Regions from separate parts of the Homo sapiens genome. Here region 2 is linked to region 1. Evidence: promoter capture Hi-C in human tissues and cell types (Jung and others, 2019). All regions are on one chromosome and are shown on one strand. Each heading gives the region's core, a stretch centred on a gene start or on the middle of the fragment in contact. The rest is flanking DNA. Distances are from core to core; before and after follow the strand shown.

Evidence for each region. The method cuts DNA at HindIII sites, captures the fragments that hold promoters and counts their contacts. A contact is called where the count stands out against the background at its distance.
Region 2: a contact is called between a fragment that was not itself captured here and the fragment with the promoter of TM4SF1 in region 1, in 1 of the 25 tissues and cell types used here (aorta).

Annotation. Positions count from the first base shown.
Region 1 is chr3:149,375,620-149,379,240 of GRCh38, reverse strand. It overlaps TM4SF1 (transmembrane 4 L six family member 1), which reads left to right and starts at 1,592. Exons shown (of 5, transcript NM_014220.3): 1 at 1,592-1,870; 2 at 3,472-3,561. The coding sequence starts at 1,694. TM4SF1-AS1 (TM4SF1 antisense RNA 1) reads right to left here and starts at 1,463. Exons shown (of 2, transcript NR_109810.1): 1 at 926-1,463. The HindIII fragment of the contact is 5,365 bases long and covers 1-3,621 here.
Region 2 is chr3:149,409,748-149,413,368 of GRCh38, reverse strand. No RefSeq gene overlaps it. Among named protein-coding and RNA genes, the nearest start is that of TM4SF1-AS1, 34 kb to the right of the region's middle. The HindIII fragment of the contact is 3,524 bases long and covers 245-3,621 here.

The DNA.
Region 1 (3,621 bases), core at 343-2,842:
CTTATGAGGATTTGCCTGCCTCCGCCTGAGCAGGTGGGTGGTTCCACGCTTCCCAACTCCACTGATTTATTTCCTCAGGCCATCCTGGATTCTGGCTTCACCCCTGTTAGTGTGCTGAGGCCACACTTCTTGGGCCCTCCTCCGGTCCCATGCCACATCACTAACCACAGCTGGTCTCCTCAAATTTGGTATGTGTCCCGCCCTCTAGTTCCGGGCCAAATCCTTCAGACTCTAGATTCGTGAACCTCATTCACCTTCTTCTTCTAAGCTAATGCCTCCCTACCTTGGTCCTTTTCTATTTTCTGTACTCTCTATCTTGTCCTGGTGACAAGGCCCTCCAGGCCTGGCCCCACCCGGCCACCCTGTCCACCTCCCACCACCATCCACTGGCTGGTGCAATCTGCTGTTCAAGGCATAAATTTATTCAGTGCCCAGCCCCTCCTTCTGCAAGGTAACCACCTAGAAAGTTAGTCTAACACCCTTTCTCTGCCCTGTGTGGGGAGCCTGTGGAAGCTGGTCTCAGGATCTGGCTGGGTAAACCATCTGTTTACCTCTGTGTGGGTTCTGACACTCCTAGCCAGTTCTGTTTCTCTGAACCTTGTTTCTCCACTCTGCTTGCCAAGTCCCTTTGTCTTATTTTTTTCTCCCTCTCCCTCCTTCCTTCCCTCCCCCCATCCTTCCTTCCTTTTTTCCTTCCTTCCTTCCTCCCTCCCTCCCTTCCTCCCTTTTTCCCTCTCTCCTTCTCTCCCTCCTTCTCTTCTTTCCTTCCTCTCTTCCTTCCTCCTTTCCTCTTTCCTTCTCTCCCATTCTCTTCCTCCCCCTCTCTTCTTCCTCTTTTTATTTTTGTCCCATGCTTTAGGCCTTCCTTGGCCCTTCCTGGCATTGCTTTTCCTGACAGCAACACTCAATAATTTTTAAAAAGCACCTGAGCCCTTTGTGTTGACTGATGCCACCTCTGTTGTGGTGCAGATTTGTTTTAGAGGCAGATGTCCAGGGACGCTGAACACTGAAATCCATCCTGCAGAGCTTGCTGTAGGCAGAGTAAAGAAGTTTGCTCTGTAGTTTTCCCAACAGCCTTCTCAAATCCATGGGAGACGTCTCAGACACCTTGTATTTAATAGACAAGGAAATGAGCTCAGGAGATTTGCCCCAGGTTGTAAATTAAATCAGCACAAAGGTAGAAATGAACACAGAGCTCTCAGATTGGAAGCTGTCCAGACAGCTGCATGGAGCAGGGGCACAGCTCACTGTCTTTCAAAGCCTCAACCAGGGCTGTTGCATCTCGGACACTTGGCAGTTACTGGAAAGTCATGTTAGGCTTTCCTGTTGATTCTTTATCTTGTGGAGGAGTTGCACAGTCAATGCCTTGTTCAAGATTAATCATTTTCCCTGTTGCCTATGACTGAGGCTGTTTCTCACATCCTGCCCCTGGTTTTGCCTGTCCCAAGGATTTCGTCTGAAGGGCGGGACATTCCCCCTGCCTCTTCGCACCACAGCCAGAGCCTGCCATTAGGACCAATGAAAGCAAAGTACCTCATCCCCTCAGTGACTAAGAATCGCAGTATTTAAGAGGTAGCAGGAATGGGCTGAGAGTGGTGTTTGCTTTCTCCACCAGAAGGGCACACTTTCATCTAATTTGGGGTATCACTGAGCTGAAGACAAAGAGAAGGGGGAGAAAACCTAGCAGACCACCATGTGCTATGGGAAGTGTGCACGATGCATCGGACATTCTCTGGTGGGGCTCGCCCTCCTGTGCATCGCGGCTAATATTTTGCTTTACTTTCCCAATGGGGAAACAAAGTATGCCTCCGAAAACCACCTCAGCCGCTTCGTGTGGTTCTTTTCTGGCATCGTAGGAGGTGGCCTGCTGGTAAGTCATTCAGGATTATTACTGAATTCTCTCCTGTTTCCTAGATGTTTTCATTATGTATTTTCATGGAAAGTTTTTTGTAATGCATATTTCTAAATCAAGTGACTTTTTTGTTGCTGTTCATTCCTTTGAAAGCAGATTATACAAAAGCGAGATTGGTACAGTATAGCGTAGTAATTTTATGAGATGTTGTTTTACAAAATGCTCTTTCAACTAAAAGTGAACTGCCTTTTTGCTAAACTCTATAGGTAGGAAACAGATATTCGCTTTTAAATCAGATTTGAGAGACTATAGAGTTTCTACTAGAACGGGCAGTCATTTAACATTTGCTCTGGGGAGCCGGAAGGGGTTGGCTGGTTCTCTGCCTAAATCAACAGTTTTGAATCCAAATTCTCTGCTGTTTATTTTCAGCCATCTGTGATAGGGAAAAATAATGAATTGTGAGTGCATTGCTATTTTAAAAGAACTCTAAGCTTTCTCCTTTATGTAAGGCTGGGGTGTGGCGTCTAGGAAAAACCCTACAGTTAGCAGCAGGTCGGTGTCTGAAGCTAATAGTGGAATGTGTTATTTTTTCCAAGAATTGTTTTTGATTGAAGTGAGAGGAATTTCCCTGCCAACCTGGGAGCTGAAAGCATTAGCTTCAACCACAGCATGGAAAGAATGTGAGCAAACTTAAGTTTGCTACTTTAAAGTGCTGGGATTAAAAATTTTAAGGAGAAATTTTATGGAATGGTACCATACGTGATAAATTTTCTTAATCAAGTAAAAGATAGTAAAACATTTAAACCTAATACACTGATTATGGCATGGCAAATCTGCCCTAAATTATTTATTTAATGAGATTTTATTTAATTTTATTTTATTTAATGAGACGGGGTTTCGCCATGTTGCCCAGGCTGGTCTTGAACTCATGGGCCCAAGTGACCCTCCTACCTTGGCCTCCCAAAGTGCTGGGATTACAGGCATGAGCCACAGTGCCCGTCTGCCTCAAATTTAAGCATTATTATCATGTTAACATGATTATTTGTCTTAAACATAACATCACACTTAAGTTTCTTTCGATCTTGAACCTGAAGTATTTCATATTTACTATATTTTAAGAGCTTAATATTGTTAAGTTAAAACTATGCATTTGTATAATCAAGGAAGCAGTTAATATTTATTATATATAGCTTTCATGTCTCCCATTTACAAAAAAGTTTCAGTTATTCTATTAAAGATTTGTTGGTATATTCTGCATTTTACAAGTGGAAAAAATCAGATTTAAAGAAAGGGTTTAATATTTCCAAAACAGAGTTTGTTATCTGGGGTCGTGTGATAAACTCTTGTGGAATAAACACGTTTACAGTTTATTATTTTACTCCTCCCATGTTACATCCTCACCCTAAAAAATGCTTTGACAGATTACATGAAAACAAGCAGATATGACATTTAAATGGTCTTTTTCTCCTCAGAGGTTTACATTCTTTGAGATATCTGGTCAACCTAATCAAAGCCAGTTAATGTCATTGGAAATAAATATATTTTACCAAGAGATGCCTAACCTGACCCATATGAGCCTGAGCAAGACAATGACCTGACTTTGTTTGTTTCCTAACCAGATGCTCCTGCCAGCATTTGTCTTCATTGGGCTGGAACAGGATGACTGCTGTGGCTGCTGTGGCCATGAAAACTGTGGCAAACGATGTGCGGTAGGTCCTCCTGCCCTGGTGGTGAAAATGACTCCTAAGATGTAGCTGTGGCACTCTGTG
Region 2 (3,621 bases), core at 757-3,256, 34 kb before region 1:
GGAAAAATTATTTAAAAGTTCTCTATAATATGATTATTTGAGTGTTTGAACAAATATAGATACTGCAAAAATACAGGTCCTTTCCATTTCATTTTATTCTAGTACAGAATAGAAACTTATGCAACTAAAAATGAGAGGTCTACCAAACATTTTTTATATAACTTAAAATAGCCCAGAGCACAATCATGAAGCTTTAAAACTAAATCTTATAAACCATTTAAACTGTCATTTATTGTTTTGTTCAGTTCCTCCCATGCTTTTGTATTGCTTAATTTTAATATCTTCTTGTTCATAAGCTTTGCCTTCGATAATTGCAGTTTGCCAAAATTTAAAAGCTGAAGTTTTGGGGTGCTCTACTCATTTGATACCTTGATTGAAGATTTCCAGCTGATTTTGAATGAAATGCAACCAAAATTTAAAGGACACATTTACCAAAAAATGTCAATGCCAATATAAGATACTTATGTTGTGTTACAAATTTGTTTTTCAAGGACTCAAATGTTTCTAAAATCTAATTAATGATGAACAGCAAAGAGTGGGTTCACATGTTGCTATACCCAAGTATTTTCTTTCTTCAATATCAGTATCACCATGAAAACTATGTAGTTCAGTTATTTTATCTGCGTATATGTAAAAATGTTTGTGAGTTTTGGCAATACAGCTTCTATGTCAATTGGTAGAATATCATAGCTTGTTTAACCCAATTATGAGTCATGTGCATGGCAATCAATTCCAAGTACATTTTTGCTCTACAAGTTTAATTTAGTAAGAGCATTATTTTTTCCACAATGGTGTACATCGCCAGAATTTGTAAGCATATTATGGATGCAAAAACAAATCATTTAATCCTCAATGCTGTACTCTGTAACAGAATTTACAATAGCATTCGCAATAATCTCAGATGTTTCACTTTCAACAAAAGAAAATCCTAAAAGTTTTACTTTGATTCCCTGAATTGGATGAGAGCCTTCAACTGTCATCAGAGTTAACTAGATTTTTACTTGAATCACCAGATGACATTGATACAAAATTGAGGCCATTTTGGCAAGTTCTTCTTATGCTAATTATCCGCTATCATTTTTCACTAACACTTTACAAGTGTATGTACATGAGGAAACGGGATTTTAAAAGAACAAAATTAAAATAGATAAACGATCATTTAACCTAAATGAAAAGTTATGCTTTAAAAGAGGTTGTATAAATGCACCTTCTGAAGCTGCACCTGCTCAACTGTTGTCACATTCAACATGCGTCTTCTTAAATTTACCATTAACTTTCGAAGTAGACCCTGATGATTTTTCAGCAGATTTGTATTTCCTTGTTTTCAAGTGGTCAGTGATATCACAATGGGTCCCACGGTGGATGGCAAATGTCTACATTTTGTGCAAGTTTCACTTTAATCATTTACTTTCTTGAGAAATGGCAATTCTGTACTTGATTTTGTACTAAACTCATGTTTTCATTTCCTTGAGGTCACTGCTATTGAAAGGGTTTATTGTAAAATAAAAAAGCATTGCAGAACAACAAAATAGTCATGGATTTATTTGGATTTATGCCATTCAATTCAATAAATGGCAAAACAATTGCAGCATTCAGACTACACAGTAAGTTCTATGGCAGGACTTCTTGTCTTCTGTCTTCTGTACATACTTTATATGTACCTAACCCATAATTTCCCACGTTTTCCACCAACTTAGTGACTTGCTGACTTTGTGCATTTATAGAGAGTGGCACAAGCTGATAGACTGTCTGGCAGGGCCAGCAGCATAGAATATCTCTTTTACCACTACCTGAGACCAGGAGTTATCTGTCCCTAACTGCTCATGACTGAGTACAGGCATACCTTGTTTTGTTGTGCTTTACTTTATTGAGCTGTGTGTTATGGTTTTTACAAATTGAAGGTTTGTGGCAACCCTGCATTGGTCTATTGGTGCCATTTTTCCAACAGCATGTGCTCACATCATGTCTCTGTGCCACGTTTTAGTAATTCTAACTTTTTCCTTATTATTAGTATTTCAAACTTTTTCCTTATTATTATATCTGTCATGGTGATCTATGGTCAGTGATCTTTGATGTTACTATTATAATTGTTTTGAGGTGCCACAAACCATGCCCATATAAGACATTGAACTTAATCAATAAATGCTATGTGTGTTCTGACAGCTCCACCAACAAGCCTTTCCCCATCTCTCTCCCTCTCCTTGGGCCACCCTATTTTCTGGGACACAAGAATATTGAAATTGGGCCAATTAATAACCCTACAATGGTTTCTAAGTGTTCAGGTGAAAGGAAGAGTCTCACATCGCACTTTAAAGCAAAAGCTAGAAATTATTAAGCTTAGTGACGAAGGCATATGGAAAGCCAAGACAGGCCAGAAGCTAGGCCTCTTGAGCCAAAAACTTAGCCACATTGTGAACGCAAAGGAAAAGTTCTTGAAGAAAATTACTTCCAGGGAACACATGAATGATAAGAAAGTGAAACACCCTTCTCGTTGATATGGAGAAAGTTGGAGTGGTATGGATAGAAGATCAAACCAGCCACAACATTCCCTTAAGCCGAAGCTTAATCAAGAGAAAGGCCCCAGCTCTCTTCAATTCTATGAAAGCAGAAAGACGTGATGAAGCTCCATGAGAAAAGTTTGAAGCTAGCAGAGGTTGATTCATGAGGTTTAAGGAAAGAAGTTGTATCTCCATAACATAAAAGTACAGGGTGAAGCAGCAAGTGCTGATGTAGAAGCTGCAGTCAGTTAGCCAGAAGATCTAGCTATGATCATTGATGATGGTGGCTACAATGAACAACAGATTTTCAATGTAAGTAAAACAGATCTTCTTCCATTGGAAGAAGATATCTTCTAAGGCTTTTGTAGCTAGAGAGGAAGAGAAGTCTATGCCTGGCTTTAAAGCTTCAAAGGACAGGCTGACTCCCTTGTTAGGGGCTAATGCAACTGGTGACTTTAAGATGAAGCCAATTCTCATTTGCCCTCTGAAAGTCTAGCATTTATTCTGCAGCATATGGATCAAGTAATAATTTTTTGGCTTTCAAGTCTTATTATACAAAAACACATTTCATAAACTGTCATATATAGTGATTCCCCTGATGGATCTGGGCAAAGTAAATTGAAAACCTTCTGGGAAAAATTCATTATTCTAGATGTCATCAAGAAAATTTGTGATCCATGGGAGGATGTAGAAATATCAACATTAACAGGAGTTTGGAAGAAGTTAATTCCAACCTTCGTGGATGAATTTAAGGGGTTCAAGACTTCAGGCAGGAAGTAACTGCAGAGGTGGTGGAAATAGCAAGAAAACTAGAACTAGAAGTAGAGCCTGAAGATGAGACTAAGTGGCTCAATCTCATGATCAAACTTGAACAGATGAGGATTTGCTTCTTACAGGTAGGAAGACCCTCCCCCAGCAAAAGGATTATGACTCGATGAAGGCTCAGATGACTGGTATTTTATTATTGGAGACAGGGTCTCATTATGTCATCCAGGCTGGAGTGCAGTGGCATGATCATGGCTCACTGTAGCCTTGACCTCCTGGGCCCAGAAATCCTCCCATCTCAGCCTATAGCTGAGACTACCGGAATGCATCACCATGCCTGGCAAATAATTTTTTAAAT